Regions from separate parts of the Homo sapiens genome. Here region 1 is linked to region 2. The links are contacts of gene promoters, found by promoter capture Hi-C in blood cells and fetal thymus (Javierre and others, 2016). All regions are on one chromosome and are shown on one strand. Each heading gives the region's core, a stretch centred on a gene start or on the middle of the fragment in contact. The rest is flanking DNA. Distances are from core to core; before and after follow the strand shown. Region 1 overlaps NOVA2 (NOVA alternative splicing regulator 2). Region 2 holds the start of IGFL1 (IGF like family member 1).

Region 1 (5,859 bases), core at 1,182-3,681, 280 kb before region 2:
AAGAGGTGGAGGTTGAAGTGAGCCAAAATGGCATCACTACACTCCAGTCTGGGTGATCGAGCCAGACCTTGTGAACAAGAAAAAGGAATCTTCATTTATTCTAGAGTAAAAGAGACTAATGAGGTGTAACAATCAAATGCAAAGCACGAATGTTGACTGAATCTCAGATTGAAAAATCCTCTATAGCTATAAAAGATATTTTAGGGCAATTTGAATATGGACTTTCCAATGAGACAATAGTATAGAATTAGCATTTTTGTTTGTTTGTTTTTGTTTTTAGGTGTGTTGACAGTAATACAATAATGTAGGAGATTGTCCTTGGAAGATACATGTTAAAGTACTTAGGAGTAAAGAGTCATGAGGTCAGCCAGGCACGGTGGCTCACGCCTGTAATCCCAGCGCTTTGGGAGGCCAAGGCGGGCGGATCACGAGGTCAGGAGATCGAGACCATCCTGGCTAACATGGTGAAACCCCATTTCTATGAAAAATACAAAAATTAGCCAGGCGTGGTGGCACACGCCTGTAGTTCCAGCTACTTGGGAGGCTGAGACAGGAGAATTGCTTGAACCTGGGAGGCGGAGGTTGCAGCGAGCCGAGATCATCGCACCACTGCATTCCAGCCTGGTGAGTGAGCAAGACTCCGTCTAAAAAAAAAAAAAAAAAAATCACAACAAAAATTGTGTGTGCGCACGCGCATGTACACACATGCATGCACATGTGTTCATGCATGCACAAATGTTAACAACTGGTGAATCTAAGTGCAGTGTATGGGGACTATTCCTTAAACATTTTCAAAATAAAAAGGAAAAAAATCTATGCCCTAACATTCCCTTTTCCTCTTCTCCGCTTTATTTTTCTTCATAGTATTTTTCACTCTCTAACATCCTCTATATTTTACTTATCTCCTTGTTTATTTTGTGTTTCTCTGTAAAAGAATTTCAAATCCACGAGGTTAGAGATTTTTGCCTGTATTATTACTGCTGGGTTCTCAGCGCCTAGAAAAGTGCCTGGAACACAGTAGATACTCAGCAAAGGGTGAGCGAATAAATAGACGGATGAAGACTGAAGGATGACACGCCCACAGGCCCAAGCAGGAAGGCGAATGGGTGGAGGCAGCAGGTGTATCTTACCTGGTGGGGGTGGGGAGTGGTAGAGTACTATGCAATTGGGCAGCCAAACTAAGCCTGATGGACATTTTCCAGATGAGTTGGAAATGCTGATTTGTAAAATGTGAAGCACCCTAGTTTTTTTTTTTTCTTTTTTTTGAGACGGAGTTTCGCTCTTTTGCCCAGGCTAGAGTGCAGTGGCGCAATCTCAGCTCACTGCAACCTCCGTCTTCCAGTTTCAAGCGATTCTCCTGCCTCAGCCTCCCGAGTAGCTAGGATTACAGGCACCCACCACCACGCCCGGCTAATTTTTGTATTTTTAGTAGCGATGGGGTTTTAACATGTTAGCCAGGCTCGTTTTGAACTCCTGACCTCGTGATCCGCCTGTCTCAGCCTCCCAAAGTACTGGGATTACAGGCCTGAGCCACCACACCTGGCCAGCATCCTAGTTTTTAAATGTTGGCAATCTCTTAAAAATGTCTAAGATTTGTGTAGTAGAAACAATGCAATGTACTAGCCAGGCTACCCATTTGCAGTCTGTGCATACAAATCCCTGAAAAGCTGCCTTGGACTCTGGAGTCACCTGCTTGGGTTTAAATCCTGGCTCCCTGTCTGATGCTGGGCAAGGGACCTAACCTCTTTGAGACTCAGTTTTCTCATCTGTAAAACAAGGATATTCAGACCTCCTCATAGGACTATGATGAAGCTTAATTGAGCTTATGCATGTAATGGTGAGCTTGAAATCCAAGCATGACCACAAGTAGCTGGAACTGAGAGTGAGTGCCCTTCAGGTGACTCACAACTGCTACCATTGGCAGATTACACCTCAGTCCCTATGTTTCTGCTTGGCCCTGTGGGTGAAGTCATCACCTATTCATTCAAATAAGTGACATGTGCTGAGCACCTACTATGTGCCAAGCATAGGGCATCATGTATGTGTGCAATTAATATAAGCCATAGAAGCACTCAAGAAATGATTATTGTCAGCCGGGCGTGGGGGCTCATGCCTGTAATCCCAGAACTTTGGGAGGCCAAGGTGGGCGGATCACGGGGTCAGGAGATCAAGACCATTCTGGCTAACACGGTGAAACCCCGTCTCTACTAAAAATACAAAAAAATTAGCCAGGTGTGGTGGCGGGTGCCTGTAGTCCCAGCTACTCGGGAGGCTGAGGCAGGAGAATGGCGTGAACCCGGGAGGGGGAGCTTGCAGTGAGCCGAGATTGCGCCATTGCACTCCAGCCTGGGGGACGGAGGGAGACTCTGTCTCAAAAAAAAAAAAAAAAAGAAAAAAGAAAAGAAAAGAAAAAGAAATGATTATTGTCATTGTTATCCCCATGGATGGAGCTGGATTTAAATCCCACATCTGCGGTACAGCTATTATGGAAACCAGTCTGGCAGTTCTTCAAAAAGTTGAACATAGATTTATCATATGTCCCAACAATTCCACCCTAGGTATCTACCCGAGAGCTGGAAATATATATCTACAAAAAGACTTGTACATGAATGTTCAGAAGCATTACTCATCATAGCTAAAAAGGAGAAACAACCCAAATGTCTATCAACTGATGAACAGACAAGCAAAATGTGGTCTATGCATACAATGAAACATTATTTGTCTATAAAAAGGAGTAAAGTTTTGACACATGCTAAACTATAGATAAACCTCGAAAGTATTACATCAAGTGAAAAAAGCTAGACACAAAAGACCATATATTATATGATTCTGTTTATATAAAAGATCCAGAATAGGCAAGTCCACAGAGACCAAAAGTAGATTAGTGGCTGGAAGACGTTGAGACTGGGATCTGGGGGAATGGTGAGTGACTGCTCATGGGCACAAGGTTTCTTTTTGGCATGATGAAAATGTTCTGGAATTAGATGGTAACTGATGTACGACTCTGTGAACATACAACAAAACTACTAAACTGTACACTTCTAAACAGTAAAGCTTACAGTATGTGAATTATAGCTCAACAGAGCTGTTATTTCAAAAAAAAAAAAAAAAAAACACCAGGAAAAACAAACAGCCTGACAAATCAAGAAGATGGAACAGCATGTTCACAACCACAACCAGGAGTGGTATTTAGTCTGTGATGCAGTATTTTAGAGCAGTGAAGGAAGGATAGATTGGCCAAGAAAAGGTTTGAGGACAAGGGGTTAATCATGTGGGAAAAATAAAGTTAGGTTTTAAGAAAATTTCTACCTCTTCCACCTCCTAGCTGGTGGCCTGTGAAAGTCCCTTTACTTCTCAGAGCCTCTTTTTCCACATCTGTAAAATGGGCATACTATTCCCGATCCATACGATTTGTGCAAATATTCAGTGAGACACTGGAAGCCTGCTCTCTGGAGTCACTCAGTCAGCAGGGTTGCTGTTTCTACAACACAGCAAGGTCCAAATCGTAGGTTGTTTTTTTTTTTTTTTTTTTGAGACAAAGTCTTGCTCTGTCAGCCAGGCTGGAGTGCAGTGGTGCGATCTTGCCTCACTGCAACCTCTGCCTCTCAGGTTCAAGTGATTCTCCTGCCTCAGCCGCTGGGGTAGCTGGGATTACAGGCGCCTGCCACCATGTCTGGCTGATTTTTGTATTTTTAGTAGAGATGGGGTTTCACCATGTTGGCCAGGCTGGTCTTGAACTCCTGGCCTCAAGTAATCCGCCCACCTCGGCTTCCCAAGGTGCTGAGATTACAGGCATGAGCCACTACGTCCAGCCTCCTAGTTTATTCTTTAGTAACTGTGTGACCTTAGGCAAATGCCTTCACCTCTCTGTGCCTTACCTTTCTCATCTCCAGTATTAGCATAACCACACCTACCCTATATTATTATTGGAAACATTCTTTTTTTTTTTTTTTTTACAGTCTTGCTCTGTCACCCAGGTTGGAGTGCAGTGGCGCGATCTCGGCTCACTGCAGCCTCCGCCTCCCAGGTTCAAGCGATTCTTCTGCCTCAGCCTCCTGAATAGCTGAGACTACAGGTGTGCACCACCATGCCCGGCTAATTTTTTTGTATTTTTAGTAGAGATGGGGTTTTGCCATGTTGGCCACGCTGGTCTCGAACTCCTGACCTCAGGTGATCCACCCACCTCGGCCTTTCAAAGTGTTGGAATTACAGGCATGAGCCACTGCTCCCGGCCTGTTATGGGAAACATTCAATGACTAAAGTGATGCCCAGTGCCTGGCACATGGGAAGCGCTAAGCCAATGGCAGCTGCCTTCATGATAGACCCTGAATTGTAGAACTACAGCATCTTAGAAAGATCTGCAGATGCAGACTCATAGAATCTTGGAATCCCAGGACATTAGAACAGTAGAATCTTAGATAATACATGCTTAGAATCTTGGAATCACAGAGCCATAGAACTGTTGAAGTTTTAGAGCCAGAAGGACCAGAGACCATCTGCCCCAGTGATTTGCAAGCCCATGGAAATTTGCAAATACTACTACTACCACCACCAACAATAACAACAAAAGCAGCATCAACAGCTAACAGTTTAATAGAGTAACTTATCTAGGTTCCACCACAACCCTAAGATAGGTGTTATTATTACCCCATTTTCTAGATTGGGAAATGGAGGCACAAAGAAAGAACTTGCACAAGTTCTTTCACAGGTAATGAGCAGTAGAGTCAGGATCTGATCCCGGGCCAGAGTTTATGCTCAGATTCCTAAGCCTTACCAGAAATATTGATTCAGTGGTTCTGGACAGGACCCATGAATCTGCATTTTAAGCTACCCAGATGACTCAGATATCAGCTAGGGGTGAGAGCCACTGGTATAACCCAGAAGTGGCAATCTGGTGATCCTCAGGCCCCAGTCAGCCTACAGCCATACATGTTTTTTTGACCTTCATAGTGTTTTAAAAGCAGAGTTGGCCTGGCGCAATGGCTCACGCCTGTAATCCCAGCACTTTGGGGAGCTGAGGCGGGTGGATTGCTTGAGTCCAGGAGTTAGAGAACAGCCCGCAACATGGTGAAATCCTGTCTCTACAAAAAATACAAAAATTAGCCAGGGGCCGGGCGCAGTGTCTCATGCCTGTAATCCCAGCACTTTGGGAGGCCAAGGAAGGCAGATCACCTGAGGTCAGGAATTCGAGACTGGCCTGGCCAACATGGTGAAACCCCATCTCTACTAAAAATACAAAAAATTAGCCAGGCATGGTAACAGGTGCCTGTAATCCCAGCTACTTGGGAGGCCAAGGCAGGAGAATCACTTGAACCCGGGAGTTGTAGGTTGCAGTGAGCTGAGACCAGGCCATTGTACTCCATCCTGGGCAACAAGAGCAAAACTCCGTTTCAAAAAAAAAAAAAAGAAAAGAAAAAAAAATTAGCCAGGCGTGGTCGTGTTCACCTGTAGTCCCAGCTATTCAGTGGGCTGAGGTGGGAGGATCGCTTGAGCCTGGGATGTCGAGGCTCCAGTGAGCCTAGATCATACCACTGCACTCCAGCCTGGGTGACAGAGTGTGACTCTGCCTCAGACTAATATATATTAAATAATAATAATAATAAAGCATTTTAAAGTCAGTTGATCTAAAAAATTTATGGCTTCTTTTGAAAAATTTGGAAGATGTGGTAGCACTATGTTCATGTTCCCAAAGTGCAATAATTCGGTGGATTTGAGTGGCAGCTTCTCCCTTTAAAGATGGCATACCCTCTCCAGAGAGCAACAACCCTCAAGGCTTTTGTTACCTTTTTCAATACTTTAGTTATTTAATTTATAATCCCTGGTTTGGCCCAGCTGCTGCACTGTAATAAAAGAGAAACT
Region 2 (6,310 bases), core at 337-2,836:
CAGTGAGCCAAGATCGTGCAACTGCACTCCAGCCTGGGCAACTGAACAAGGCTTCATCTCAAAAAAATAAATAATTTTTTTTAAAGTGTCATAAACAGTTGAGCACAGCATTCTGTTGAATGCACACTGTCCCATTTTCTAACCCATTTCTTCACTTAAAAATAACATTGTTTATGCCCAAGTAAATTGATTTTCCATGCTACTAGCACATCCTAATCTGTGTCCTAGAAAACACTGCTGTACCCCACAGCAGCAAGGAACAGAGGCCAAGGGAGCAGACAGGGAGATGGTGCTGGAAGCAGGGTCTGCTCTGTCGAGGGAGAAGGTGGGTGCTGAGCACTCTGGTATTTATTGAAGTCATTTCTCTGCAGCCTCTTCCTGTGTCTCCTGCCTCCAGAGAGAAGCCCCTATCCGTGCTCCCCAGGAACACAGATGCAGGATCTTCCACACACACAAATCTAACCACATCCATGCCCTGCTAGGAGCCAGCCATGGTGCCTAGAGGGTGACAGGTCACCTTGCCTGGCCCGGAGGAGAACGGCTTGTCCATGCCATGTGTGGCCTGTGAGCTTGAGCGGAGGAATTCCTGCAGAAGCTGGGCAGGGGTAGGGGGGCACAGAACTGACCCAAAACAGCTCCTTCCCCTCTGTCCTCACATCCTGACCCCAAGATGGCTCTTCTCAGGGAAAATCACAACCCAACCCTCTGAAAAAGCACATTAAGGAAAAACACCTTTGAGAATCTCAGGGGGGGATGTGGAATTTCTCCACCAGAACTTCACAGTGATAATGACACCAAACACAAGAACGACAATAACCAAAATCAGGAGTTTTATTCTCCTACCTTCTCTCTCTCTCTCTCTCCTCTCACTGTCATGAACGTCACGAAGACACTGACTTTGCGTTTTCTACTCAGCACTGCATCACTGGTGTCTGACACGAAGCCTGGGACATGTAGGCTCCCAAGTGGACCTGTCCTGGGTAAATGACCATTAATGAGACAGAGAAGGAGATGAAGAGCCCCCAGAGGAGTGTTGAGTCCCAGGGGTCCCGCCAGCTCCACTCCCACCTTCCAAACCTGTGAAAGTCAGGTGCCTGAGTCACACAGTCTCTCCCACCTGAATGCCATGAGCTGCAGGTGACTGAGAAGTTACTGGATTCTTGACCATGTGTTTCGGTTGTGAGGTTGGGACCTAATGGGACCCTTTGAAATGATGTCATGGGTTAGCAATGTCCCAAGGAAACTGAGGAAAGTCATAGCTCAGTAGGATCCTGTGGAATCGCTGTGTGGACATGTGAGTGTCGGAGAGTGTTAATGCCAGGAGCATCCTGAACCTTCCTATTTTCCAGAGGACTCAGTGTGGGGGACGATTGGGGCACATAGCACAGAGAAGGTGGAGGGTGTACCGCTTCTCTCCTGATTACAAAGGTGAGATCAAAGCTACAATGACACGTACCCTGCCTGGCACCTCTCCTGCCCAAGGACCCAGCCTGTCTCTGCAGGACTTGCAGGAGGGCAGGAAATGCCATGACATCACCAGCTCCACTAGAAATATGGGATAAAAGGAGTGGCTGAGATCTGCTGATCCCCTCCTCACTCCACTGCAACCACCCAGAGCCATGGCTCCCCGAGGCTGCATCGTAGGTAAGGAGGACAGGACCCCATTCCCACCTGAGCCCATCTCCAATCTCAGCCACCACCAGGGCTCTCTCCCTACCCCAAACTACACCTCATCCCTGTTCCCATGCCCAGCCAAATCTCCAGGCGTGAATTGCTCACAGCAATTCCCCATCCATAGTGCCCAGATCAGCCCCATCCACAGCCCTGTTTCAGTCCCTGAGCTGCTCAAAGCCATACCGAGCCCTGGTTCCACCCAGTCTTCTTCTAAATGTCAGTGCCAGTCATATCTGTGGCTGTCCACTCACCCCATCTTCCCTTTCCCTTTCCCACAGCTGTCTTTGCCATTTTCTGCATCTCCAGGCTCCTCTGCTCACACGGAGCCCCAGGTGAGCCCAGGAGTGTTTGGGAAGCTGGAGGAGGGGTACACCTTCCAGGGGACCCCAGGCTGGGACCCACCTGCCACTACCTCCTGGATCTCACCAGCTCTGTCTCCTCCAGTGGCCCCCATGACTCCTTACCTGATGCTGTGCCAGCCACACAAGAGATGTGGGGACAAGTTCTACGACCCCCTGCAGCACTGTTGCTATGATGATGCCGTCGTGCCCTTGGCCAGGACCCAGACGTGTGGAAACTGCACCTTCAGAGTCTGCTTTGAGCAGTGCTGCCCCTGGACCTTCATGGTGAAGCTGATAAACCAGAACTGCGACTCAGCCCGGACCTCGGATGACAGGCTTTGTCGCAGGTGAGTCCTGTCCCCTCCGTGGGATTGTGGGTGCAGGGTAGCTGCATGCCTGTTCTGCCCTGGGTGGAGCCCCCATTCTCCTTGTCTCCCTGTCTCTGCCCCCTGCTTCTATTCAATCCACCTCTCCCTTTCCCTACACCTGTGTCTCCATCCATTTTTATTTCCCTCTCAGAATCTCACTCTCTCTACCCCGCTGTCCTCTCCTCCTGGCTCTCCTGTCCTCATTTCTGCCCATGTTCAGTCTCGCCCCCATCTCTGGCCATCTCTGTCCCGCTCAGTGTCTCTCTCTGTCACTATCTCCAGTGTCAGCTAATGGAACATCAGGGGAACGATGACTCCTGGATTCTCCTTCCTGGGTGGGCCTGGAGAAAGAGGCTGGTGTTACCTGAGATCTGGGATGCTGAGTGGCTGTTTGGGGGCCAGAGAAACACACACTCAACTGCCCACTTCATTCTGTGACCTGTCTGAGGCCCACCCTGCAGCTGCCCTGAGGAGGCCCACAGGTCCCCTTCTAGAATTCTGGACAGCATGAGATGCGTGTGCTGATGGGGGCCCAGGGACTCTGAACCCTCCTGATGACCCCTATGGCCAACATCAACCCGGCACCACCCCAAGGCTGGCTGGGGAACCCTTCACCCTTCTGTGAGATTTTCCATCATCTCAAGTTCTCTTCTATCCAGGAGCAAAGCACAGGATCATAATAAATTTATGTACTTTATAAATGAATGCTGTAGAATTCATGAATTAGAGAGCTTGGACTGTTGAAAGGGGTCACAGAGGGTGACGTGGGGCCCCTTCTCTCTGTCACCCTGAGGCATCTGGGCCTTTCCATTTGTTCTGTTCGTGCACACACTTATTTTCTCTTTTTCCATTTATTTTTAAATTTATTATTTTGTTATTTGTGCTCGGTGACTAGGACCCTGGCCGCACCTGGGACAGGGGCCACCCTCCTACACCAGCCTCCACCACCCCATGGCTCCCTGAACCCAGTCACAACATCGGGAGCAGCCCAGGTGGGGTGGGGAGGAGGTGGGGATCGCGAGAGGGCTTCGGAGAGGCACTCCCTCTCCCACCAGTTCTGGGACAGAACAGGACCCGGCTGTTTGTTCTTGATGTACGTTAAGGAGATGCAGACAGACTGGGAAAGAACGGAGGTTCTTTCTCCAACTGGCTATGGGGAGAAGGTCAGAGTAGCTTACCAGACCAACTCAAAGCTACAAACTTCTTTTTCTAGTGCTTATATGCATTCTAAGCTCCACGCCTATGTGCGGAGTGCACCTGCAAGACAGCGTGTTTCATTCTTATCAATATCTAATCTTTAACTAGTGTCCAGGGTCTGGAAAGCTTTCTCCAGAGTCTTGGAAAGTTTCTTAATCTTAAATGGACCCCAGTATGAGGAATATGTGGAAGAATGCTATTATTATTTGATCAGATTTTAGGGTCTGAGAAAACCCAGCTGGGGTTTTAATGGGCTTGTTTTCTCATTCCCGCCCTCATCCCCAGGCACTAGTTTATCCAGTTCTATAATGTTTAAGGTATGCATTCATCAAAAATAAAGTTTAGTGGAAACTGACTCTTCTGGTCGCTAACAGAAACCTGATCTGCCACACACCCATCCCAGGCACGCGTCCCCTGGGATCGTGGAAAACCCACTGGGCAGGTCCAACGCCCAGAGATGCCACACTTAGTCTGACTTTGGGCCAAAGCTGGAGCCTGAGAGGGAGTGGGTGGGGCGGGGTGTGGAGGATGTGGGCTATGGAGGAGCCCTCGGGTTTGGAAGGAGGAAGCAAAGGCTGGCCAAGGCACCTGAAGCACATTCTTCAGGCCCTGTGCCAGGGACAAACCCTCGTGGCCAGTGCTGATGTGGAATAGATCGCAGGGAGGGGGCCACGCTGCTGCTTACCCAACCCAGAAGCAGGTTCCTTAGGGAGCGTTCAGCCCTAGGGTCTCCACCAACCTGGATTCCCCAAAGTCAAAGAAGCCACCACCTTTCTGGGTCCTGTTTCTCAGGGCCAGGGGGTCTGCACAGGGCCTGCGTCCCTGGGCCTCAGTCATCCGAGGCCAACCCAGGCTCCCGGACTGCCCGATGGCTTCCCTGGGCAGATTCTGACTCAAAGGGTTCCATCATCGCCCCACAGTTGGCAGCCTCGCCTCAGTGGCCCCAGACGGGCCCGGTGGCCAGGTGTCTGCACGTGCGGGAACTCTGGACCCGGCACATCACCATGGCAGCAATCTGGCATCACAGGGCAAATGCCCTGTCTCACAGGCCTAACCCTAGCTCAGGGCCTATCAGTGGGAGCACACCCAATGCTGGGTGAGCTCTGCCTCCCCATGCTAGGATTCTGCAGGGCGTGAGAGCTGTGCTGGCGCCTAGAAAGCGACAGACCCACCCCACCCACGGGGTGGCTGCTTCCTCATCCTCCACAGTGAGCGTCCTAAACCTTCACCCTGTCCACATGTGACTCTCCTTGCCTGCACTCCCCCCACCACCCCATGAAATGATCTCATTTGGTCATTTAAGTGGAAAACTAAAAAGTTTTAAGTGACTCCGTGAGAGCAGGAGAGAGGCGGGTCTCCCAGCTCAGACCCCGCCCTGGACGCCCCCACTGAAGCCGCACAGCAGGATGTAGGTGCCCAAGGCACCTACACGCGCCGAGAGGCCTCGCTCAGCCCCGCCCTTCTTAAACCTGGAATCCTCAGGTGTCTGGGTCCTGCCCCATACAGGCCCCCTAGACCACTGGTCCAGATCCCCAACCTTCCCCCAACACGAGGTATTGACATCAAAGCATCACCTCATCTGGCACAAGAATCTGAAACACAGACCGCACCTTACACCAATGTAGTGAATCCCTCCTTGGATCTCAGTCCAACAAGCCCAGAGTCGGGGCTCTGGGTTCCCGCCCAAATGCCACGTGTGCGCACAGAAGGCACCTGACGTCCCTTCTAAGGGACAGGAATCTCAGGCATCCCAGAATCACTAGGTCTGATTTAAATAGCGTCAAATAAATTGGAAAAGAATGAAAGTGCTATAAAGTTCGGCTGAAATTTTCAGAGGTTTTATTGGTTGTATCTGGTGGAGAGAGTGGGCAAGTCTTCTCTGAACATCCATGAGGACGAAGAACAGTCACTGAGGTGACGGTACCAAGTCACCGGCCACCTCCCAGGGATCCTCTCATCCGGTCCTCACAGCAGCGCTGCATGGTCGGACCTCATCACCCACATTCCACCAAGAGGAAGCTGAAGCCCGGGGCCTTCATCCACTCATGTCCTCCAGACCCCTGGCACCCATCCTGGGCCCCACCCCATCATCCAGGCCTTGGGCCTTCGACCTGGGGAGAGTCCCTGTCTCCTCCATGAGCCGCCCTGGGCCTGAAGAGGTATCCAATAAACAAGAAAGCAGAACACAAAGAGCTGTGATGGAGTGGATCTTATGTAGTAAGAATAAACTTATTTTGAGAAATTTCTGGGTCATGTATTTACCCACAGAAAAACAGAAGCAAACACACACACACACACACGCACACACACACACACACACACCACACAGGCTGTCACGTGTCCTAAGCACAAAGTGCCTTGAGCAAGGCCATTGCTGGCCCCACACTTATCCTGACTGTGATCTTGCTGTGATCAGCACATCCCATCAGTGTGGCAACAGGTGTGGCCAGAGTGGGAACCAGGCCTTTTCTTCAGATTTGCTCTTTGTTCCTGAATAGCCACCGTCAGAACAGACACCCTCCTAGAAGTCACTTGATTAAAAATTTCCTTTTGGATATTTAGGTTGATGTTTTATCCATCGGTTAAAGTATAAATGTATATTTATTATAAAAGTGTAATTATGGCTCTAATTAATGATTATGGTGAATTTTAATAACTATAGCTATGAAAATATTCCAATAGATAAAAACAGTGCTAAAATATACAGTTAATATAAGAGTGATTACTTTA

What was found. The method cuts DNA at HindIII sites, captures the fragments that hold promoters and counts their contacts. A CHiCAGO score of 5 or more calls a contact.
Region 1: a contact is called between a fragment that was not itself captured here and the fragment with the promoter of IGFL1 in region 2, in 2 of 17 cell types (M1 macrophages and M2 macrophages). The highest score is 7.9, in M1 macrophages.

What each region holds. Positions count from the first base shown.
Region 1 is chr19:45,946,227-45,952,085 of GRCh38, forward strand. The region is part of intron 3 of NOVA2 (NOVA alternative splicing regulator 2); the gene reads right to left. Among named protein-coding and RNA genes, the nearest start is that of NOVA2, 25 kb to the right of the region's middle. The HindIII fragment of the contact is 1,242 bases long and covers 1,811-3,052 here.
Region 2 is chr19:46,228,156-46,234,465 of GRCh38, forward strand. IGFL1 (IGF like family member 1) reads left to right here and starts at 1,587. Exons shown (of 4, transcript NM_198541.2): 1 at 1,587-1,644; 2 at 1,953-2,006; 3 at 2,119-2,362; 4 at 2,666-3,088. The coding sequence starts at 1,620. The coding sequence ends at 2,675. RefSeq lists an enhancer at 935-2,134. The HindIII fragment of the contact is 5,684 bases long and covers 1-3,704 here.